7 separate regions of the Homo sapiens genome follow, and regions 1, 2, 4, 5, 6 and 7 are each linked to region 3. The links are contacts of gene promoters, found by promoter capture Hi-C in human tissues and cell types (Jung and others, 2019). All regions are on one chromosome and are shown on one strand. Each heading gives the region's core, a stretch centred on a gene start or on the middle of the fragment in contact. The rest is flanking DNA. Distances are from core to core; before and after follow the strand shown.

Evidence for each region. Contacts are between HindIII fragments. The study calls those that stand out against the background at their distance.
Region 1: a fragment that was not itself captured here is called in contact with the fragment with the promoter of FAM227B in region 3 in 3 of the 25 tissues and cell types used here (lymphoblastoid cells, mesendoderm cells and small bowel).
Region 2: a fragment that was not itself captured here is called in contact with the fragment with the promoter of FAM227B in region 3 in 1 of the 25 tissues and cell types used here (thymus).
Region 4: a contact is called between a fragment that was not itself captured here and the fragment with the promoter of FAM227B in region 3, in 1 of the 25 tissues and cell types used here (mesenchymal stem cells).
Region 5: a fragment that was not itself captured here is called in contact with the fragment with the promoter of FAM227B in region 3 in 1 of the 25 tissues and cell types used here (hippocampus).
Region 6: a contact is called between a fragment that was not itself captured here and the fragment with the promoter of FAM227B in region 3, in 2 of the 25 tissues and cell types used here (IMR-90 fibroblasts and mesenchymal stem cells).
Region 7: a contact is called between a fragment that was not itself captured here and the fragment with the promoter of FAM227B in region 3, in 3 of the 25 tissues and cell types used here (IMR-90 fibroblasts, lymphoblastoid cells and mesenchymal stem cells).

Annotation. Positions count from the first base shown.
Region 1 is chr15:50,024,249-50,027,775 of GRCh38, forward strand. All of the region lies in intron 6 of ATP8B4 (ATPase phospholipid transporting 8B4 (putative)), which reads right to left. Among named protein-coding and RNA genes, the nearest start is that of ATP8B4, 93 kb to the right of the region's middle. The HindIII fragment of the contact is 4,438 bases long and covers 1-3,527 here.
Region 2 is chr15:49,282,400-49,286,021 of GRCh38, forward strand. GALK2 (galactokinase 2) reads left to right here. Exons shown (of 10, transcript NM_002044.4): 7 at 1,167-1,319. Among named protein-coding and RNA genes, the nearest start is that of GALK2, 110 kb to the left of the region's middle. The HindIII fragment of the contact is 4,823 bases long and covers 1-3,622 here.
Region 3 is chr15:49,619,311-49,622,498 of GRCh38, forward strand. FAM227B (family with sequence similarity 227 member B) reads right to left here and starts at 1,508. Exons shown (of 16, transcript NM_152647.3): 1 at 1,390-1,508. It overlaps DTWD1 (DTW motif tRNA-uridine aminocarboxypropyltransferase 1), which reads left to right and starts at 1,738. Exons shown (of 5, transcript NM_001144955.2): 1 at 1,738-1,812. RefSeq lists an enhancer at 1,850-1,969. The HindIII fragment of the contact is 10,713 bases long and covers 1-3,158 here.
Region 4 is chr15:50,127,331-50,130,899 of GRCh38, forward strand. It overlaps a transcript of ATP8B4 not described here. Among named protein-coding and RNA genes, the nearest start is that of ATP8B4, 9.9 kb to the left of the region's middle. The HindIII fragment of the contact is 3,153 bases long and covers 1-3,107 here.
Region 5 is chr15:49,209,328-49,212,680 of GRCh38, forward strand. The region is part of intron 2 of GALK2 (galactokinase 2); the gene reads left to right. Among named protein-coding and RNA genes, the nearest start is that of GALK2, 41 kb to the left of the region's middle. RefSeq lists a silencer at 2,372-2,572. The HindIII fragment of the contact is 4,469 bases long and covers 1-3,353 here.
Region 6 is chr15:49,981,527-49,984,691 of GRCh38, forward strand. All of the region lies in intron 10 of ATP8B4 (ATPase phospholipid transporting 8B4 (putative)), which reads right to left. It also overlaps the pseudogene RNA5SP394. Among named protein-coding and RNA genes, the nearest start is that of ATP8B4, 140 kb to the right of the region's middle. The HindIII fragment of the contact is 3,413 bases long and covers 1-3,073 here.
Region 7 is chr15:50,061,766-50,064,906 of GRCh38, forward strand. All of the region lies in intron 3 of ATP8B4 (ATPase phospholipid transporting 8B4 (putative)), which reads right to left. Among named protein-coding and RNA genes, the nearest start is that of ATP8B4, 56 kb to the right of the region's middle. The HindIII fragment of the contact is 3,550 bases long and covers 87-3,141 here.

The sequences.
Region 1 (3,527 bases), core at 875-3,374, 410 kb after region 3:
AGGTTATTTCCAACAGATACTTAATAACTGAGCCTAGAAAGAAAAAAACCTCAGCTCTTCCCTTTTGGCAGAGCTTTAAATTTTTTTTCACATTTTGAAACTATTTACAGTTCATATGGTTTCCAGACCTACTCTCCAAAACCAAGGGCATCATCCCCTGCCTGGGTCTCTCAGTGCTCCACATGTGATTTCTCAGGCAGCCAGCCAGATGAGCATTTGATTTGAAAATGAAGCCTTAAATTTAGCAGTGTGAAAGGGGAAAGCATGTAAGAACATAAATGCCTGGAAAGGGGCAAGGTAACAGATGAGGACAGCTGGGTGAATACTCTTCGTCGTCCAGGCAATTCAGAAAGTGCCGCTGCAAGGGAAACGTCCACTGCAAACCCCAGCAAGTCTATTTCTGCTTCTCCACTGGGTGTCTAGGGCTGCCTGTCACATTTTTGCTTGTCCAACTTGCTGCAACCTGGGGGCAGCTGCGAATGAAACAGTAAGCATTGCTTCAAATCATATCTTGAGCTCTGCTAATTAAGAAATGAAGTCCAGGCAGACCTAAATCCTTCCCTTTCCTTAAGTGTCAGACACTGTCCCATACATGTTAATTTCCAGCAGTGCCCAAGAGACTCCCAATAACACAGAACACTAGGGTAAAGATGGGCTTGGTATCCGAGGACCTCACACTCTCAAGTGCAATGATAGCCAGCAGCGATGTGCACAAACACACAATATATGAATACTTCTCCTTGCCCCATATTAGTTACAGGGAAGAAAAGAGGAGTCTAAAATATATTCTGCTTTTGCCCCAAGAGGCTTTATTTAATTCACTTTAGTGCATTTTGCCCACTATCATGTAATTATTGCGTATCAACTGCATGGGAATATGGAGATTGTCTCAGCCTCAAGTAAGTCACAGCAGTAATAGGAACAGACAGACAAGTATAGCAATAGGCAATTAGCCTCTCCCCATATCTATCTTGACCCCTCTGCATTAGCTTCTTCCCATGCAGCAGGTATGAGATTTTCCAAAGACAAACCCTTCCACACAATCTCTCTGTTATGAGGAAAAAGACCCAAACTCTTAATGTAGCCTTGAAGGCCCTGCAGGGTCTGGCCTCTGATGGCTTCTCCAGCCCTGTCTGCCCCTGCTCTTCTCTCCGCCTTATTCTCTGGACTTCTGCCAATCAGTCCCTCATAATCACCATCCTCCTTCCCCTCCACAGGACCTTTGCACATGATTTTCCCTCTGGAATTCTTCTCATCCCATTGCTCCAACTCCTATTACCACCTTTGCCTAGTTAACTCCTAGTCATCATTATGTTTTCAGCTCAAATGTACTACTCCCTTAAAGAATCCATTCCTAAACTGCTTCACCTCACCTCTACCAACCCCCACAAAAAAATACCTGTCTTTAGAACCACACTCTTTTCCTTAGCAGCATTTGCCTTGGTTTGTAATTATACACTACTTAGCATGGCTATTTTATTATCTACTTCCCTGACCAGACACTAAGCTCTGTGATTGCAGAGAACATGTCTGTTTGGGTTGACCTGCATTTGCAGAATATAGCTCAATGCCTGGCACACAGGATTCACTCAATAAAGATTGACAAGTAAATGAAAGGTAAGGAGACCATTATGATACTATGTGTCATGATATAATAGAGTGCTATTATCAAGACAAAGAAAGATGGTGGGAATATGATCAGGACATTACCCTAGTAGCCTCATGCTTTGAATTGTCTCCTGACACCTTTTGCTACAATTTCTTCCATCTGGAATACAATTTATCTCCACTGTTGGAAGACCCGATGATTAAAGTTCTTCTTCCTTACCTAATCCATTTTGTAACTTTCAGATCCTACCCTCCTTGTTCCACTGTCATCTCTACTACTATTACTATCAAATCCATCCTCATACTTTCAATATTCCATTTGCTGTTAAATCTTTTTATCAGGTGGAGTCACTGACTCCCCTTCTTTGGCTCCTCACCATCACACCAAAGCTGAAGAGGATCACAGAGTCACTGTACTTAAAGCCTGAGAGGAACCTTGAAATATCTGGCCTAGTGGTACTCAAACTTCAATGTACATGAGAATCCCATGAAGTGCTCATTAAAAATAGAGTCCTCAGTCCCAGACCCAAAAAGTTTGATTCAAGAGGTCCGGGAAAGAGCCCAGGAATCTGCACCTGGGTGATTCAGATGCAGGTGGTCCTCAGACCTCATGTGCAGAAGTACTGACCAGTGCTGTGATGCTTGTGGAGGCTCCTCAAGATCTACCATAAAGGGTGAGAGGGCAGCCGAGAGCACCTGCTCTGAGCAACTGCACTATACATAAGATTTCATTTGAAAAGGGTTCTGCTTATTGGAAAAAGAAATGTTTGAAAATGACTGGTATCCAATATCTTTGTTTCATAGATGAGAAAACTCAAGTCCTTGGTCCTCAGTCATGTAGCCAATTCATGACAGAGCAGGACTGAACCTCAGCCTCCTGACACCAGGCTAGTGGACTTTTCCCAATGCCTTCCTGCCTTGTGGGGTAGAAAGACAACAGAGGTTCTCACTGCTGTGTTGCCCAAGAGTCTTACAATGAGTAGCCTGCATATGAAGATGGTACTTGTGACGGACCACATTGCACCAGAGCACATAACTGGAGGGACAGGAGATGGTGGATTTGGGCTCATTTTTCATCCAGCATATTCTCAGCCTCCCTCTTCAATAAGCCTGTAAAGACCTAGTAATCCTCTATGGCCTGAACTGTTCCTGGGTTCTCCAATGCTCTCCCCACCCTCTCACCCCACCATTCCATTAGCTGTTCAATGGCTGACCTTTGCTGGGGGGCCAATTCTATCAAGGGTTATTCTGAGACAATGAAATCCCTGCCACTAGCCCTCCAAAACTAGTATTAGCCATCCCTACCCCATATGTGTGCACCCAAAGCACCCAGTGCACCTGGAGCACCTCATACTTCCTTGCACCTACTGCTGTCAAATAAGAGTCTGTTTATTTGTCCATCTCTTCCCCTAGACCCCAGACTCCTTGAGGGCAGTGACATGGGTCCTAATAGTCCATGTGTCCGTAGCATCTAGCACAGTGGCTGGTACTCAGAAGTGTTATTTAAATATGGGATGGATGGGTGGATGGATGGATGGATGGATGGATGGATGGAAAACATGAATCCCTGCTGCTACTCTCAATGTTCCTATAAAACCTCTATCATATCCCTGAGGAAGCCCTAGTACATGCTGATTGACACTGAGCCAGCTAGATTATCTGAATGAAATTCGTCCCGTTGCCAACAGAGCCCCTTAAATCTCCACTGCTGTTTGTGTGCTCTCCTCCATGAAGCCCTCTCCAAACTCAATTCCATTTCTCAATACTTAACTTTTTTCTTTCCCCCTGCAACTCCATCATACTGGACTGAACACTGGACATTAAGCAAATTTAAAATCCAGTAAGTGTTTATTGTGAAGGAATGCTAAGCTTATGGAAAATGTACTTTATTGCACCATAGACAGTAAGTTCTCACTTAA
Region 2 (3,622 bases), core at 128-2,627, 340 kb before region 3:
AACCTCATTTCCTGCTCCTATCCTAAATCACTTCATCTCATGCATTTTTATAATCTCTTGTTGGTTTTAAACCCAAATCATAGTTCTCTTACCACATATATTCACAGTCCCTCTTTTTATAATTTACTCTTTGGTATCATTTTTCCTGTCAACATTTTTGGGGCTTCAGTGGTGGGAAAAAGAATGTTGCCAGTAAGCCAGGAATGAATTCCTTAGCTGGATACCGCTTCCCCTTGGCTATCAACTCCTTTAGGCAGAGCAGAGGTTTTAGTTGTTGCTCATAAGCTGCTCATTTCCAAAATAGAGCAAACATTTCTTTAAAACATTTTCTTAGTTTTTCATCAGATTCCTACAGGCTTGGCTATTTTCCAAGAACACCTGGATTCCTTCTTAGTAAGAATATTTGTTATTGATTCCCCTAAGCCAAAGACATGAGGCATGAGGAAATTTGTTTTAATACTAAGAAAATACTTTGGGTGTTTTGGATGAGACGCAACAGGCAGACATGAGGGCCAGAGTCCTGATGTTAATGTAAGTTAGCTATAGAGTCTGAACACAGTCTAAGTTCTTTGGGCTTACAAAACACTTCACCATCTGACCCCTGCTTTACCCTTCTATCCTAACCTCTCACCACTTCTCACCCCTCAAACTGTAAGCTCTAACCAAATTTCCATGCCCGTAGCTCCATTAACATTCCATGTTGTTTTTTGCCCCTGGACTTGCCTAAGTTCTTCCCTCTTCTTGACATGCTTTTTGAGGAAAGAAACCCTCTGTCTGCCCTACTTTTTTCATCTTTTAGAACTCAGTTTAGATTTCTCTTTTTCAACTGAGTGGAACCTACAGTAGGCTGTACTGATGAGATGCTTCAGCTATGTATCCATATAGCATCTGTGCTTTGCTACCATTGTAACACAACTTGGAAAGGTATTTGTCTGTCTACTAGACTGTCTTTCCCACTTGATTGCGGGCTCTATGAGAGGAATGACAGTGTCTTTCCTGTTCACTGTTGTATTTCCAGTGCCTAGTACAGCGCCTGGAGGTCAATAAGTAATATTTGAATGAATGAATGCATTTTTGACAAAACACTTTAAGATAAATACATAAACACTTGAACATTTTCTGCATTCTAATAAATTATATTTCTCCTTTCATTTTTCTTCTAACAGGCCAAGTTGATAGAATTTAGTCCTCTGAGGGCAACCGATGTAAAACTCCCAAGTGGAGCAGTGTTTGTGATTGCCAACAGTTGTGTGGAGATGAATAAGGCAGCAACTTCCCATTTCAATATCAGGGTGATGGAGTGTCGGCTGGCTGCGAAGGTATGAACTTGGCAGGCTAGTGAAACTTGAAGTAGGGTTTTTCTTGTCTTTATTTTCATTGTTCTCTATTACTTTATCTCTTTCCCCAAATTTTAGGGCAACATTCTGACTGCACAGCATTCCAACTGAAGGTCTTTGGGTACAGAGAAATCTGATTTCTAACTCAGAAGACAGATGAACCAGTTGAGTCTTCTGGGGTGGCACTGGGAAGAAAAGGGCAGCTTATATATGTGAAGCAGAATTATAGGTTAGGTCTATGGGTGGAGAAAGATAGTTGGGGACAATTGATGGGAATGACCACAGCTGGTCTTGTTTCCTCAACAAAAGTGATGGCAGCCTCACCCCTCCTGGTCCTCTAAGATGCAGTTTTTTTATTGGGTTATCATTCGTTACTCCAAAAATACAGGATTGGTGAAGTCCCCCCAGACCCCGTACCCAGAAAGAAGATTTTTACATGTCTACTAGGGAAACACAAACCAGCAGGGAGTCTTGGAAGTCTCTCTTTAGAAAACTGCCACAGTTAAACCTTAAATCTATTTAGGTAGTATTCATTGACTAGCTATTGTAGTTCTAGCGGCATGAAGATATACAAAGGGACATAGGACATGGGACTAGAGAGAGTGGACAGTAGAGTTAAGAGTTCAAGTTAAGGGATTATGAAACAGGAAATGGTTAATATGTGATCAGATAGTAAGTAATCCAGTGATCCAACAAGTGACACAGTAATTAAATATTATAAATAATCCAGAATAGCTCATAATACGACTAGAAAGTTGGAGAGAGGACTGAGGCTGGAGGCTAGGAAGTGGATTCTGGGTCAGGAGCTCCACTGTGCTTTCTTCCACTCTTGCTTTGATCTCCTGATGGATACTGATGGATATCACCTAAGACTTATGATCAACCTTTACCAGGTCTTAAATACAGCCTGAAATCTATTTTCTCAGTAGTAATAATTTCATACCTTCTTTACTTCTCTCAAATACCCATTACTTGATTCAGCCTAACTTCCAAAAGTGATTTTCTCCCATATTTCATGTTGGAAATAGATGTGGTCACATAGACTTTGGCTTCCTGTCATCATATCTGTATGTCTCTCTATATCTGCATCTCCTGTCAAAGCCAGCCCTTCCATGTGTGGCTGCAGGGAACTCACTCCATCTTTAACTTGTTCCTCGCCTCTATTTCTCTACTAAATCCTTTCTATCAGACTCCACCTATTCTAGTATTTTGTATTAGAAAAGTCTACCCTAAGCCTCACAACTCTCTCCATCTACTATTTCTATTTCTACTTTTTCATTCTCTTCACAGCTAAACTTCTCAAAAATTGCTTTATATATGTTATCTTTACTCCTCTACCTCCCTCTTATTCCTTAATTTACTAAAATCTCACTTCTGCGTTCTCCACAATGTTGAATTTGCTCTTTCTTAGGCCACCAAAGGTTTTTTCATTGGTAAATCCAGTGGATGCTTTTCAGTCTTCATCTTATTTCTCATTGTTATTTCTTATCTTTCAACAGAGTTAACCAGTCTTTCCCTCTTGAAATATTCTCTTCCTTAGGTTTCCAGTATACTTCACTTCCTGTTTTTTCTTTTCCCCCTTATATTTTTGTTGCTATTTCTTTTTAGTTTTAGCCATTCCCTCCACCGACCCACCCTGGGCAGGGATGAAGGGATGGCAGGAATTCACTCCTCCTCCCACAGATGTTTAAATGTTGGTGTTCTTCAAGGCCTTGGCCTTGGTCGTCTTCTTCTTTCTAGTGGTCTTTCTTCTGTTGGTCTCATGCCCTCAGCTTCAACTTCCATCTCTATGATGATGACTTCCTAATAAACATCTTCAACTAAGGCTTTCTTGGTTGAGCTCCAAACCTCTATATCCCATGCCTTATTGACCATCTTTACTTGAATGAATCATAGACCTCTCAAACTGAGCATGTTGAAATTGAACTCAGTCTTTCACAGACCTTATATTTTTCCATCGGTCCCATCATCACTTATTGACTATCACATTAGCCTTCTCACTGTTCCTTAAATTCATGCTCATCTCTTTCCCAATCATTCTTTAAATAACAGCATGACGGCTTAGAAATTTAAATCTGAGCAATTTAAATTCCCCTGCTTAATACCTTTCAAAAGCTTCCTATTTCGTTGGAATAAAGTAAAAGGTCCATATCACGACCTGGAGAGCCACCATATCTGAGACCTGTGCACCTCATCCTCTTCATCTCTTAGCATCACCTGCTTTCCTTACACTCCAGCCATGAGACTCATTCTCATCTCAGAGACTTTGCACCTGCCCAGGACAT
Region 3 (3,188 bases), core at 258-2,757:
ACAGGACTTTGACACATTTGTAAGCAAAAGAAAGTGGGGGAAGTAGCACCGCGTTACTTTTTGAGGCAAGGTCAGAAAAGGTCAGGCAATTTTTGCCTTGTTCATTGCAACACTCCCTTTGGAGCTCTGAGTTTAAGCTAAGAAGTCTGACTACCTTGCTGCCATACTGTGAGGAAACCCCGGCCATATAGTTACAGAAGCTCTGCTAGCATGCCCACTCTAGTCTTTCTAATTGAGTTACCAAAGAAAAGCTGATGACTATGCCCTATTGACAACACCACCTGTGAACATAATAAAATGGTTGTTTTAAGCCACCATATTTTGGAGTAATTTATTACATACGATAGCAACCCAATGCTCAATCTAACAAGTAGTATTATTTGCTTTTTAATCTGTGCAATTTAACTACTTTGATAAAATTTAGAGTTAAACTAAAAAGGAAAATGGTTGTGAATTCTTCTTGGCTTATAGACTTTGCTATTCTACTTTCCCTACCCAGAAAATTCACCTTTCTCCCTAAATCACTGGCTTTCAAACTTTTTAAGGTTTGAAATACAGTAAGAAATACATTTTACAAACAAGCCCTAGTGCACACATACACGCATATATACAATTAAAAGCTCCATAAAGCAGTACTTTACTAACTAACACTAAATTTACTTACATGCGCTGATATTTCCAATCTATATTGTTTCTTTTTTTTAAGTTTAAAGAGATTTCCTTGCTTACAAATGGGTCAAGACCTCCACTAATGGGTCCCACACAATCCCCTTTCCAGTTGAAAAACACTGTCCTAAACCTAAATCATTCTTCAAGGCCTTACCCAAGTCCGAAAAAGAAGCCTTTATTGACCACTCCATTCTCAGCTTTCTTGAAATTCCTGTAATTTATTAAATTCCATTTTTTATCTCAGTAGTAAGAATATTGCATTTTCTGTACTTGAATTTAACATGCTTTACTTGATATCGTGAGCACTTCTAGGGCATTGTAATGTCCTTTATCTACCACTTGATAAATTCAGAGTAGTCAATAAAACATTGCTCAACATTTGACCATTGTGTTTTAAAATCTTAGTTGTTAGAGTGCACTTCCGTTTGCGCATTGTTTGGGGAGAGGCACGGACAAATGTTCTAATAACTTATCCACATATTATACTTCAAAGTGGAAAAACACAAAGTACTCTTAACTCTATATGCGTGTTTTTATGCAAACTAAATCATTAAGATACAAATGATTTTTCTAATAGCTTTCATTACCACACAGCACACGAAATAATGATATTGATATAGCCACGAAAGACTAATGTAACCAAGTTCTCACAATCAAAATATCTTTGAGGTGGGCAAAATGCAAACTTTTCTCTGGGATCAACATTTCTTCACAACTCACTGCAACTACGCCTTGACAGTATGTTTCGAGAACCGCTTCCCAATTTTGTTGTCCCAGCAAGAATCGGGAGGAAACTGGGTGAAAGGCTGCGAGGCTTGAGGCGGGTCCCGGACGAACGCGGCCCTGCCCCTCGCCGGAGCCTCTCGGGAGAAGTGCGACACCGCCGCTGATTGAGAGGCTGAGGCGGAACTTCCCGTCTAACCCCCCCCCCGCTGTCGTCCCAGCCTGTTGCTTAAGCCGCGCGGTGTGCGGTGTGCGCGGCCCCTGCCTTAGCAACGACGCTAGTAACTGCCTGGCTCCTCCCTCTGGTGTCTCCCGGAAAGCGCTCCGTCTGGTCCGTGCGCGATCACGGCCCGGCGCGTGGCTCGGGCTCGGGCGGAGCTGGAGACGTGTGGAGCTGTTCGAGGACTCGCGGGTGTGCAGGTCTGAGTACCACTCCGATCCCTGGTGGAGGTCCCCGCGCCTCTCTGGAGACCAGTGGTCTGGCCCCAGAGGTGCGGCCGCGGGAAGTGGACATTCTTTGTCAGGACCCTAGCGGAGGTCGCGCTGGGTGTCGCCTGTGAGGGGGATCCTCGGTTTCTGCGCGGTCTCTTGCTTTTTTTAGGATCTTGCGGGCCCTTTGGGAAAAAGGTTTCCAAATTTTTCCTCAAAAAAAAAATTATTTTTCCTACCAATGATTTTCGGTGCATTCCGCCCCAACGAAAAGTATGTCCTGGCAAAGTCAGTTCCCTAGGAACCCCATACTTTATTTTATTTTATTTTTAGTATTTGGAGTGGTTTGTGGGGGTTTGGTTATCACGGAAGGGGAAGCGTAGTACAGACGTAGAATTAGTGATGCCATGCAGTGTATTTAAAATATTGAGGTTGTGGTTACATAATAAGCAAAAGAGCCTGTTTCTTACGTCTAAATTATTTATTGGGAATGTAGGACAAATAAGGAAGTATATTAACATTTTCAGTCGCCAGGCCCACAAAGTTGGATGGTAAAATCAATACTGTAGATCGCAGCATGTAAGGACTAACCCAGTGCACCATGAAAACGAAGGCAAGACAGTTTGTTACCATATGGCGGGTGGTGTGGGAGAGGCCATTGATCCTATATGAAAAAGGGTACTACTACCTTGGATTATGAAAAATGAATGTTGGACCTGTAGGTCCTATGTGACCAAGTTCTTAAAAACACTCTAAAGAAAATTGGAAGTGGTTTTTTTCTAATACTGAATTGGTCCACAATATAGGACAGGGGAGTCTGTATAGTGTTCCATTGGGAGGTGAGTCAGCTTACAATAATGGAAGAGGTAGAAGCTTTTTGTTATTATTTTGGAGAAAAAAAAATTGCCAGCCTGCCACTTGTGCTAGGCTGCAGACGGCCCATAAAGGTAGTTTGTCAGATACTTCAGTAGTGAGATGCTTACTGGATGTGTTTTGCAGAATGGTTTTGATTTAGTTAACAAGTGTTTGTTGAGTTCCTGCTGTTGCATAAGAATCAGGAATAGGTGAGATCAGGGAAGGAATCTGCTCTTACAGAGTTGAATGCTGGAGGGGATAGATTCACTAAAGTACCTCCACAATAAATGCATTTTTCCATGTCAAATATGTGGAACTAATAATAAGTACTCAAAGAGGTTTAAGACATTGCTGTGGCCCATCTATGAGTTAATAAGGAACTGAATTAGAATCCTGACTTTGAGAGTGAAGATAGAGGATTATATACAAGGTAGATGCAACTTGGTGAGTATAATTAATTTGGGGTGGAAATTGGGTAGAAGGAGGAATAAAAAATTAATGTATTTTTAGCC
Region 4 (3,569 bases), core at 281-2,780, 510 kb after region 3:
CTTTGCTGCATGGGCAGGCAGATTAACTGACCCATGTTCAGTTCAGTAACAATGGCCTTCCTCTACTGTGACTTGGGCTTCCATTCTAAATGGCTTGAGTGAGTCACAAACATACATCCCACAGCAATCGTGAATGTGGAGAGCAAAGGTGAGTTTGCCATCATCTCAGTATATCAGTCAATGTAATTTCTAGGTCCTAATGGATCAGAGACCAGGCAAAGATTAGGCAAGAATTGAGTCATGGAGGCCTCAAATGTTGCCTTATACACACTATCTCTGAGGATAGCAACCTAGACGCATTCTCTCTTAGATAAATAAACTGCTGCAGCTTGTGCTATAATACCGATTGCAAAGAAATTGATCCTACAGAACTAGAAGACTGCACTGGAGCAGGAGGTTAAAGCATCGGATGGCAGGAGGGAGATAAAACTGTTCAAGGCAGCTCTAGGACCATCCTGTCCTCTAGAGATATCCCATTATACATAGGGAGAGGAACAAACACCAGTAAGGTCTGTCTTTGAAGAAATATTAATTTCAGATGAACAATACCAAGGTGTGCCTCACTGTGGTTCTGCACACATCCCCACCAATGCTGAGCCATCTTTAGGTAGAGTGTGCCCCAGTCTCAAGGCCCAGGAGCTACAGCAGATGAGCAGATGATGGAGCTACTTCTTGTGCAACCCCATGTTTCTGTGCATTTCAGGGTAAGGAAGGTGCTACCTTCAGAGCTTCTCTTTTGAGTAAGCCAGTGTTTCGTTTTGTATCCAGTCTGTCAAGGAAAGAAGGAATTAATATCACCCCAGAAAAGCAGGAGGAACACTTATGGAGTTAAGTCATGCCAGAGACCAGCGAAAGAAGGGGAATCATGGAGACAGACACCAGAGTCCTGGGTTTTCCTAGCTTCAGAGCTAAACTTCAAGAGGGAGCTGGCTTTAGAAACATCCAGAGAGTTGGAGTCACATGGAAAATCTAGGCTAAGCACCCATTTCCTTTGGGTCTGAAGGGTGCCCTTCTCCATCAGAGCATCAGATCCAGCAAAGCTGGGAGCAGTATGGAACACTGGAGGAGAAAGGTGGCTGCAGATGCTTGAGGCTATGTTCCTGCCTCCTTGTGGCTGATGAAGGGCAAGGCCTGGGCCAAAATGACAAGATCTGCTTGTGCAAAGAGAATCCAGAGGACCTGGCATGGATCCAAGGCTCCCACTTCCCTCTACTGTCACAGAGTCACACAGGTTCTCTGTGATGCCATTCTGGAGAGAAGCAGGAGAGGAGAGGGACACCCAAAGGCCCTAAAAAAGACTAAATAATCAAAAGCTTATTTGAACTGGAAAAGACTGTGGTTGGTAAATTGATCAGTGGAAGGTTTATTGGGGATTATTTTTCCCTACTTACCCTTTGGAGTGTGTGAGTTAGTGAAAAAGGACAGATCCTTTGTAAAAAGTTAAGTAGGCTGGGCGCAGTGGCTCATGCCTATAATCCCAGCACTTTGGGAGGCCAAGGTGGGCGGAGTTCGAGAACTCACAAGGTCAGGAGTTCGAGACCAGACTGACCAACATGGTGAAACCCTGTCTCTACTAAAAATACAAAAATTAGCTGGGCCTGGTGGTGCGCACCTGTAATCTCAGCTACTCAGGAGGCTGAGGCAGAAGAATCACTTGAACCCGGGAGGTGGAGGTTGCAGTGAGCTGAGATCGCGTCATTGCACTCCAGCCTGGGTGACAGAGCGAGACTCCGTCTCAAAAAAATAAATAAATAAATAAAAGTTAAGTAGCCACATTTTTTAGGGCATATAGGTAATAGTGTGAGTAAATTGTGACCCCAGCTACCTCATGTCCATCACTAAATGCAATCTGTTTTTTTTTCTTGTTATCTTGAGGAGTCAAATTCATATCAAGAACGCTGTATTAGTTTCCTAGGGCTGGAATAGCAAAGTACCACAAGCTGGGTGGCTTAAAACAAGGGAAACTGATTCTCTCACAGTTCTAGAGGCTGGAAGACCAAAATCAAGGTGTTGGCAAAGCTGGTTTCTTATGGAGGTTCTGAGGGAGAATATGTTCCATGCCTCTCTTCAGCTTCTGGTACTTGCTGACAATCTTTGGCATTCTTTGGCTTGTAGACCCATCCCTCCACACTCTCCCTCTATCAACACATGGCATGCCCTTTGTGCGTCTTCTCTGTTTCTTCATGTCTTTATATGGCCCTCTTATCAGGACATGATTAGATTTGGGCTCCATTCTAATCAAATATGACCTCAATCTTAACATCTGCAAAGACTCCATTTCCAAGTAAGGCCACATTCCAACATTCCAGGTAGACATGAATTTTGGGCCACACTATTCAATGCAGCACAAATGCAAAAGGGGATTTTAATTAATGGCCAGTATTGAAATTATGTGGTAGACTAGGTCAAGAGATCGAGACCATCCTTGGCAACATGGTGAAACCCCGTCGCTACTAAAAATACAAAAATTAGTTGAGCATGGTGGCACGTGCCTGTAGTCCCAGCTACTTGGGAAGCTGAGGCAGGAGAATCGCTTGAACCCAGGAGGCGGAGGCTGCAGTGAGTCGAGATGGTGCCACTGCACTCCAGCCTGGTGACAGAGCAAGACTCTGACTCAAAAAAAAAAAAAAAAAAAAAAAGAAAGAAAAGAAAAGAAATTACATGGTAGAGTACTAGGGAGATTTTCATTTGCTATAAAGAGATCTAGAGGTCTCCACCACTTGGCCAGACTAGACTTCTTTGGTTCTCTACTCTATATGAATGTTGAGGCCTTTTCACAGCCTGCATAGATGCCCTTTCCCTGCCTTGTTTACCTGGCTAAATTTTCCACATCTTTCAGGTCTTAACTGCATTCTCACTTCCTCTAGGAACCCTCTTCAGAGAATTTTAAGAAATCAGAGCTTCTCTGGGCTCCCATGATATGCTGCCTTTCCCCATCATGGCACTTGCCTTGCTATAATCACACCTGTCCACTTGTCTGGGTCTCTAATACCTGAGGGTAGCAACTCAATTTCCCACTGGTAGCACTGGGCTTAGCACAGAATGTAAGAGCCCAGGACTCCTGTGATAAGATTACCCAGGCTCTGGTGAGTAACTGAGTATTCTTATATAAGTCACTCAACTTCTTGGGGTCTCAGTTTCTTCATCTAAAAAATAAGAGTCTTGGCTGGGTGCAGTGGCTTATGCCTGTAATCCCGGCAGTTTGGGAGGCTGAGGCGAGCGGATCACAAGGTCAGGAGATCGAGACCATCCTGGCTAACAAGGTGAAACCCCGTCTCTACTAAAAATATAAAAAATTAGCCAGGCGTGGTGGCAGGCGCCTGTAGTCCCAGCTACTCAGGAGGCTGAGGCAGGAGAATTGCTTGAACCCAGGAGGCAGAGGCTGCAGTGAGTCGAGATGGTGCCACTGCACTCCAGCCTGGTGACAGAGCAAGGCTCTGACTCAAAAAAAATTAAAAAAATAAAAATAAATAAGAGTCTTGGATTGCAATGTCTAAGCAACCCTCCTTAGTCTAACGTTCTATGTTAGTAATTGTATTAGTCCATTTTCATACTGATATAAAGAACTA
Region 5 (3,353 bases), core at 210-2,709, 410 kb before region 3:
CTCTTGCCTGATTGCTCTGGCTCAGACTTCCAGTACTATTTTGAATAAGAGTGGTGAAATTGGGTATGCTTGTCTTGTTCTAGTGCTTAGACAAAAAGCTTTCCATTTTTCCTCATTTGGTATGACATTAGCTATGGGTTTGTCATATATGGCCTTTATTGTGTATTGAGACATGTTCCTTCTGTACCTAGTATGTTAAGAGTTTTTATCATGAAAGAATGTTGAATTTTATCAAATGCTTTTTCTGAATTGATTGTAAAGATTATATGGGTTTTGTCCTTCATTCTGTTGATGTGATATATCGTATTTTTGGATTTGTGTATGTTGAACCCCTTCCTTGCATTTCTAGGATTAATCCCACTTGATCATGGTATATAATCTTTTTATGGGCTCTTGGGTTCATTTTGCCAACATTTTATTGAGGATTTTTGATTATATGTTCAACTGAGATATTGTCCTGTAGTTTTCTTTTTCTGTTGTGTCCTTGTTCAGTTTTGGTATCAGAATAATGCTGGCCTCATAGAATAGTTTCAAAGAATTCCCCGCCTTTCAATTTTTTTGCAAGTCTGAAAAGAATTGGTGTTAGTTCTTCTTTAAAGGTTTGGTAGAATTCATGGGTGAAGCCCTCTGGTCCTGAGCATTTCTTCGTTGGGAGACTTTTTACTGTTGCTTCAATCTTGTTACTTGTTATTGGTGCGTTCAGGTTTTCTATTTCTACCTGGTTCAATCTTCTTAGGTTTTATGTGTCCAGGAACTTATGCATGTCCTTTAGGTTTTGCAATTTGTTGGCATAATAGTTGTTCACAATAGGCTTTAATGATCCTTTGTATTTTGTGGTGTCACTTGTAATGTCTCCTTTTCTGTTTTTTTTAATTTTATTTATTTGTGTGTTCTCTTTTTCTCAGTCTAGCTAAAGATTTGCTATTATGTTTACCTTTTCATTTCATTAATTTTTGTCTCAAATTTACTTCTGCTCTGATCTTTATTATTTCTTTCCTTCTACTAATTTTGGATTTGGATTGTTTTTGCTAGAGATGTACCATTAGGTTGTTTATATGCAAAATTTCTACCTTTTTTTTTAGTGGCTGATTTATTTTATTTTATTTTATTTTATTATTATTATTTTTTTGAGATGGAGTTCTGCTCTTGTTGCCCAAGCTGGAGTGCAATGGTGCGATCTCAGCTCACTGCAATGTCTGCCTCCCAGATTCAAGTGATTTTCCTGCCTTAGCCTCCCAAGTAGCTGGGATTACAGGCACCCACCACCATGCTTGGCTAATTTTTTGTATTTTTAGTAGAGACAGGGTTTCACCACGAAGGCCAGGCTGGTCGCGAACTCCTGACCTCAGGTGATCCACCCGCCTCGGCCTCCCAGAGTGTTAGGATTACAGGCGTGAGTCGCCGTGCCTGGTCTATTTTATTTTATTTTTAACTTTCGAGATGTAGTCTCGCCCTGTTGCCCAGGCTGGAGTGTAGTGGCACGATCTTGGCTCACTGCAACCTGCACTTCCTGGACTCAAGTGATTCTTGTGCTTCAGCGTCCTGAGTAGCTGGGATTACAGGCATGTGCCACCATGCCTGGCTAATTTTTGTATTTTTACTAGAGACGGGGTTTCCCAATGTTGGCTGTCACACACACACACACTCACACACACACACACACACACACACACACACACGGCCTTTTCATTTCTACCACATGGCTGGGCTTCAATTTTTCAAACTTGTTCACTCTGCTTCCCTTTTAAATATAAATTCCAGTTTCAGGTCATTTCTTTGCTTATGCATAAGAGCATAGGTTGTTAGAAGCAGCCAGACTACATCTTGAATGCTTTGCTGCTTAGAAATTTTTTTCACCAGATATCATCACTCTCAAGTTCAAAGTTCCACAGGTCCCCAGAGCAGGGGCACAATGCCTCCAGACTCTTTGCTAAAGCATAACAAAAGTGACCTTTACTCTAGTTCTCAAAAAGTTTTGTATTTTCATCTGAGACCTCTTTAGCTGGGACTTCATTGTTCATATTATTATCAGCATTTTGGACACAACCATTCAACAAGTTTCTTGGAAGTTCCAAACTTTCCCTCATCGTCCTATCTTTTTTCTGAGCCCTCCAAACTGTTCCAACCTCTGCCACTTACCTAGTTCCAAAGGTGCTTTCACATTTTCAGGTATCTTTATAGCAATGCCCCACTTCTGATACCAATTTTCTGTATTAATCTGCTCTTGCACTGCTATAAAGAAGTATCTGAGACTGGATAATTTATTTAAAAAAAGAGGTTTAATTGGCTCACAATTTTGCAGGCTGTACAGGAAGCATGGCTGGGAAAGCCTCAGGAAACTTACAAGCATGGTGGAAGACAAAGGGGAAGGAGGCACGCCGTACATGGCTAGAGCAGGAGGACGAGAGGGAGGGGAAGTGCTATACTCTTTTAAATGATCAGATCTCATGAGAACTCTATCATGAGAACCACACTCAGGAGATTGTGTTAAGCCATTAGAAACCACCTCCATGATTCAATCAACACCCACCAGGCTTCACTTCCAGCATTAGGTATTACATTTCACCATGAGATTTGGGTGGGGACACAGATCCAAGCCATATCATATGGGTCTAGGCATTGATCCCTTTCTTCTTGGTTTTCTAATTTGTTGGTATATAGTTGCTCATAATAGTCTCTAATGATGCCTTGACTCTCTGCTATCAGTTATAATATCTTTAAAAAAAATTATCTGACTTTATTTATTTGAATCTTCTTTATTTTTTACTTTTTCTTTTTTGTTTGAAATGGAGTCTCGCTCTGTTGCCCAGGCTGGAGTGCAGTGGCGCTATCTCAACTCACTGCAACCTCCACCTCTCAGATTCAAGTGATTGTCCTGCCTCAGCCTCCCGAGTAGCTGGGATTACAGGTGTCCACGACCATGCCTGGATAATTTTTGTATTTTTAGTAGAGATGGGGTTTCACCCTGTTGGCCAGGCTGGTCTTGAACGCCTGGCCTTGTGATCTGCCCACCTTGGCCTCCCCTCCCAAAGTGCTGGGATTACAGGTGTGAGCCAGTGCACCTGGCCTCTTTTTTACTTAGTGTGGCTAAAGGTTTTTTGATTTAGTTTATGTTTGCAAAACACCAACTTTTAATTTCATTGATTTTTTTTTGTAGTTTTAAATTTCAATTTTACTTATTTTTGCTCTGATCCGAATTCTTTTCCTCTACTAATTCTGCATTTCATTTGCTTTTGCCTTTCTCATTTGTTAAGATTCATCTTTAGGTTGCTTATTTGACATATTTCTACCTTTTTGATGTAGGTGTTTATTGTTTTAAATGTGCTTTTTTGTACTGCTCTTTCTGTATCATG
Region 6 (3,165 bases), core at 117-2,616, 360 kb after region 3:
CTTGTAGTTGAAAGGTTTAAGTGAAGCTATTTTTTCAATGTCTATACATGAATATGCTTCTAGTTTGACATAGTTAAAGATAACAAAGTCAACAAAAGTGAGGAATAATTTGGAAATATTAAAAATAATGCAGCAACAAACACAATTCAGAACACTAAGGTAAAAAATGGAAAAATAAATCAAATTCTAGATCTGTTTCCCAAAAAGATTTGAGGTCCCTTTGAAGGAGAAACTAGAATAGCCCCCCAAAATACATCAGCAAGTAATTTAAACCTTTATTGTGTATTGTATACTGCACGTATGTAATATGTAATTTTTGTAAAGACAAGAACTGTCTTAAATGTTGTGTTAGATTTATTTCAGGTAATTACATTATCCCATGATAAGTGCCTTGTTCCAGGAATTCTAAGAATATAATCAACTGCTTTAGAAGTGGGTTATTAGATGATAAACAAATAAGAATATTGAAAAATATTGTTAAAGAAATTCCTTGTGGACAGAGAAAATGCTAAATAGAAGCAATTAAGTTTTAATTAAAGCTAATTTCTCCAGTGTTTCCTCTTCACATATTCTCCTCATGATTTTCAATCCATAGAGCCATTTAATATAGGAGAAAGGGGGAAATTAAAGAAAGGAGAAAAGGGAGGCACACCCAAAATTATATACCACTCCAGAAGTCAGGGAAGGACAGGCACATCCTTAAAAGACTTTTCTTTATGTAAAAGAAAAAAAGAAGCAATAATTGAGGTTTCATAACAATTCATTGTCTTAAGTTGGAAATTGTACTGCAGTATCCTATTCCTAGCTACTGCTGTGTATAGACCACCCACATTTTCTCAGAATCATTTATTAAAATCATATGAACATTGAGGGTGGGAAATATTTCTTTTATGGTAAAGATCACAAAGGCCAAATAGTCTGTAGCCATAGCACCCTGAACATACTTGATCTCATCTGATCTCAGAAGCTAAGCTAAGCAGGTCAGGCCTGGTTAGTACTTAGATGGGAGACTGGGGATATTTGGTGCTGTAGGCTTAAAAAAAACACACACACACATACACACATAAAGTTTGTGGTTGCTAAAAACTGAAATATGAAAAGACCAGTTAGGTGCTGAAAATGTACATTCCATTAGGCACACAAATGCACACAGACTAATAAGGAATCCTTTTTATGGATTATTAAGCATTTATGTAAATATAACCACAAATGTTTATATGCACATCCTGAAAGAATTTTCTACACTCAACAGCCTCCGTTTTCTTATCTCCCACTCGTTACTCAACCCAGTCTCTGGGCCAATCACAACGCCAAAACAGATCTGGTGTTATCATCAATATCCTCCATAACTTCTTGACTATTCAGCAACCTTTGACACTGTTGACTATTCCATCCTTTTGAAACATACTCTTCCTTTAGCTTCTGTGTTATAATATTCTCCTGCTTTCCTTCCTACCTCTTTGGTAGCTCCCTTCCTGTCTTCCATGATACTTACTCTCCCTTCCCTTTACCCAGCTACTAAAGACTGAGAATCCTTAAGACTCAGGCATAGGTCACCTTATCTTCTTACTCAATCTACCTTCCCTGAGCAATCTCACCTAAGACCGTAGCTTTGAGACCAACAGTTTTAATAATATAGACAAGATGTGTATCCCCAGCTCATGCTGTTCCTCTGAGCTTTAAATCTATATATTTAAACCTACGTATTTTGTTGCCTGTATATTTCCACCTGGATTCTTCTAAGGCCTCTCAAGTGGCCCTTGTCCAATCTGGCTTACAATCTTCCTCCAAGCTTCTTATCTCAGTGAGCATCATCACCATCCATCCAGTTGCGAAGGTTGGAAGAAACCTCAGTCATAGTTGATAACTTTATCATCCTCACCTTCAAGCCTGGTCATCAAAGCTTGTCAATTCAACTTTCTAAACTTTCTAAAAGCCTTCTGAATTTATCTACTTCCCTCTCCTTTCCTAATCTGAGGGACCATCACCTCTCAACTGTGAAAACCTAGAAACTTTGTCTCCCTGTATCCACTCTGCCCCCAAAACTAACCAATATTTTTCCTCCTTCCCAACCCCAGGACCTGCTGTCTATTTACAAACATTACAAACAGTGTTGGCAAGATTAAGCTTTTCACAATTAACACATATACACCCCACCTGTTTGAAAACTTACAATGGCGTCCCTAAGCTCTTAGGATAAAGACCAAACTTCTGGATACTGACCACAAGGTCTACCAGCATGGTCTAGCCCCTATCCATGTCTCCAGTCCCATATCCATCCCTATCCTCTGTGCTCTCCATACCCCATACTGGCCTTCTTTTTTGACCTCACTTTCCTTACTCCTGCCACAGGGCCTTGGCCATTGATATGATTTTGGCTTGAGATTAATGCCTCTTTCTCTCTCCTACCATACTGAAAATCATATGAGTGAAGGTACTGCATTTGTTTTTGTTCACATTTTTAATCCCCAATGAGTAAGTAGCATAATGCCCAGCATATAGTAGACATTCAATAAATAATTTGTAAGTATTTTAAGCAAATTAATTTTTTGAACATCTACATTTCACCTATAATCTCAGCTAATGCTTACAACAAACTAACAAATTAGGTACTATTATCCTCAGTTCACTAATAATGAAACTGAGTTTAAATAATTGAACTTGCCTGAGATTTCTCACCTAGTAAGTGTCAGAGCGAGAATTTGAACCTCGACATAAGTAATTCTAAAGTTCTTGGTCTTTACTATTTTCTAAAACTATATGAAATAGTCAACCAATATTTAAGACTGTGTCTCATTCAGGATCCTAAAAGGAAATAGATGACACATTGAACAAAGAGAATTGGAGGAAGTTTTATTTATAAAAGAACTCTTTACAAAAAGCATAGGTGGGATTATAGGGGAAACAAAAGGTTAGTGCATTAACCAAGGGCATGTAGCAAGCAAGCTGTTTCTCCACCTGAGCCAGAAGGGATGAAGGGAAGGAATGGCTACTGGACCCTAAGGGAAAGAGGTGACAGGAATTTGCAGCCCTTAGAGTAAGAGTGGCCTTCTGTTGATAGATCTGGCCAGCCTGAAGTTAGCACACAAGAATGCAGCCTGGAGGAGTAAATACCTTGATCGTAATCTCCTTCTTCCTTTTGATCTCTTCCTAGGGATCCCCGAG
Region 7 (3,141 bases), core at 612-3,111, 440 kb after region 3:
GTTTTCAAGCCAAGTCAGGTCATTTTTACACTACATAAATGAAACATGGTATTTTACCATTCTTTCATTCTCTTTGAAAGACATTACCAATATGAACAACTTTAAGAAAAGAAATGCATTTATCTCTTCCTAGAAAATTATCTTCCTTACTCAGATACAGTGAAAATGTTTATTATAAGCTAACACTATTCATTTTCATACTTAACTTTGTAATGTCTAATACTGTTATTTCATTTATGCATGTGAAATAATCTCAAAATTCCAAGAGTTCCTGAAGGGCTGAGACCTTATACGTTTTTAAGTGTCTAGAGCATTTAACAAAGTGATAAGCAAGAATTACTCAATACGTGTGATATAGTTTGGATGTGTGTCCCCACCCAAGTCTCATATTGAAATGTAATCTCCAGTGTTGGAGGTGGGGCCTAGTGGGAGGTGATTGGATCATGAGGGCAGTTTCTAAGGGATGGCTTATCACCATCCCCCTTGGTACTGTCCTTACAATAGTGAGTTCTAGTGAGATCTTGTCATTTAGAAGTGTATGTCACCTTCCCACTCACTCTCTTGCTCCTGCTTTCACCATGTGATGTGCCTGGTCCCCCTTCACCTTCTACTATGTTTGGAGGCTTCCTGAAGCCTCCCCAGAAGCAGATGCTGCTATGCTTCCTGTACAGCCTTGTAGAACTGAGCCAATTAATCCTCTTTTCTTATAAATTACCCAGTCTCAGGTACTTCTTTATGGCAATGCAAGAACAGTCCAAGACAACATGGCTGATAAACCCAATTGGAAAAAATACAAAATAATATATGAGAGGAAGACAATTCCACTTATGAGAAAATAACATGAGCTAATATAATTTTTCATAATTAATGATGCATCACAATAATTTTCAGTACATAACCTATAGAACTTCTTTTGCCAGAGAAAGATAGGCATTAGCACAAATATAGATTTTTCACATTATTTAGCACAACATGCAGTTTATTAATTTTCTCATATCAGAGTACAAGGGAGAAAAAAAATCAAATATTCCTTTAGCTCATTTTCTCACCTAGAAAAGCATTTCTTTTTCTGCAAAGCATTGCAAAGAAGTTCAGCTCATTTGTGCTTCTAACCTCAAAATCGTCTTTCTTAGGACAATGGCGTTTTTGTGGTATTGAATCTACAAGAGTCTTTGAAATATCACACATGGTACTAAGTGGTTTGCAAGAATCATAGGAATATGACTTGGGGAGGAATCTTCAAAGTTCAGTTATTCATTCTATCCTTCTGCTTCCATACATGTAGAAATAATCTAAACCAGCACTATAATAGATGTCTTTAAAAAAAAAAAAAGCCTTTCTGCTTATTAAGACAGAGAGCAATATTACTACATAATTAAACAAAAATTGGGCTGCCAGCAAAGACAGTTCATTATAGAAATTGGAACTAGCTAAGTAAACAAAATGTAATGATTAATGGCCCAACAGCAACCTATAGGGAGGTCTCTAGTGATAAGACGCATGGCCATGTTCTTCATTGTGTTGTGCTCAGTATTTTTATTATTAACTTAGATCAGTGATTAATCCAGGTTGCCCATTAGAATCACTAGGGGAGCTTTAAAAAAAAAAATGCCTGGACTCCACCCCTAAAGCTTCTGATTTCATTGGCCCATTTGTTTAACTATCAATGACAATACAGAGAGATGCTAAAGTCCACATAGATACAATAATAAAAGGAATAGTTTAATGACAGAGTAAGTGCCTATTATGTGCCAACAAGCCCTATGACAAGCAAGATATGGAGATAAATGTGACACGGTTCTTGTCATTAACAATAAAAATAAAATTAATATGAGATTAATAGACTCAACAGTCACTGAAAAGATAGTACAGTCTTAGACTGTATTAATAATCTTTCTCTACTTCAAGATGGTCAAATAAATTCTAGACTATTGTGTTTGACTTTGGAGGAACCCACTTGAAGAAGTTATAGAAAAACTGAGGCTCTTTGAAAAGAAAAGGAATAGCAGGTGATTTTCCTGGAGATCTGTTTATTTGATGAATTTGTGTTTGATATTTTAAACACAAATATCTGAAGTGTTGTTGCATGAAACAGAAGACATGTTTGCTCTGCTTTGGTCTCTGAAGAAAAGCTAAAACAATGGAAAATAAAGCAAGAGAATATCAATTTGGCTCAATTGATGGAAAAATTACCTAATGATTAAAACTACCCAAAGAAAGAAAAGGCTGTTTGGGGAGGTAATGAGGTCCCCTCTTCTAAAGGGATAAAAGCACAGACAGGACATGGAGTTGGTTAGAATTCTGTAAAGAGAGTTGAATGGAAAAGCTTTAAAGGATAATTCCACACTGAGATTCCACAGTGTATTGTACTGAAGCTAATTTCCTTGCAGTACCTAAGAAATCAGGTTTTTCCTTTTGTATAAAAAAAGCCCTTCTTCCCTAAACTTTTGGACAATTGGTACACAATGATGTCACCATCTATAACTTACCTAGATGACACCTGAACAGCCACATCTGTAATGATGTGAACTGACAACCAAGGAGGACACATAAAACCCAGTACAATCAGGACTGCTAGAGACACCAAGTCAAGGGTATCAGGAGCTAGAGATTTAGATCAACAGTCTTGGCATGTGACTCTGATTGCTGTCCTCTGCTTAATTCCTCTGAGAACAGTCTCTCATTATTCAAGCAAAAACATCCTTACAAAACTGTATACACTTCCTCACAACTACAACACTACCTCCGTGCACACAGTCATGCAATAGACACAGATTTATTGACAAATATATAGCCCAAGTCTTGGATCATTTTTAAAGAATTTTCAAGTTTAATGCCTAAGTAGCTTACTTTTGTAATAAACCTGCAAATTGTATACTTGATGTATTAGTCTATTCTCATGCTACTATAACAAAATACCTGAGACTGGTAATTTATAAAGACAAGAGGTTTAATTAGCTCATGGTTCTGCAGGCTGTACACAAAGCATAGAGGCTTCTGCTTCTGAGGAAGCCTTAAGAAACTTGCAATCATGGCAGAAGGCAAAGGGGAAGCAGGCACATCTTACACGGTTGAAGCAGGAGCAAAAGGGAGAGGGAGGAGGTGCTACACACTTTTAAACAACCAGATCTCAGGATAACT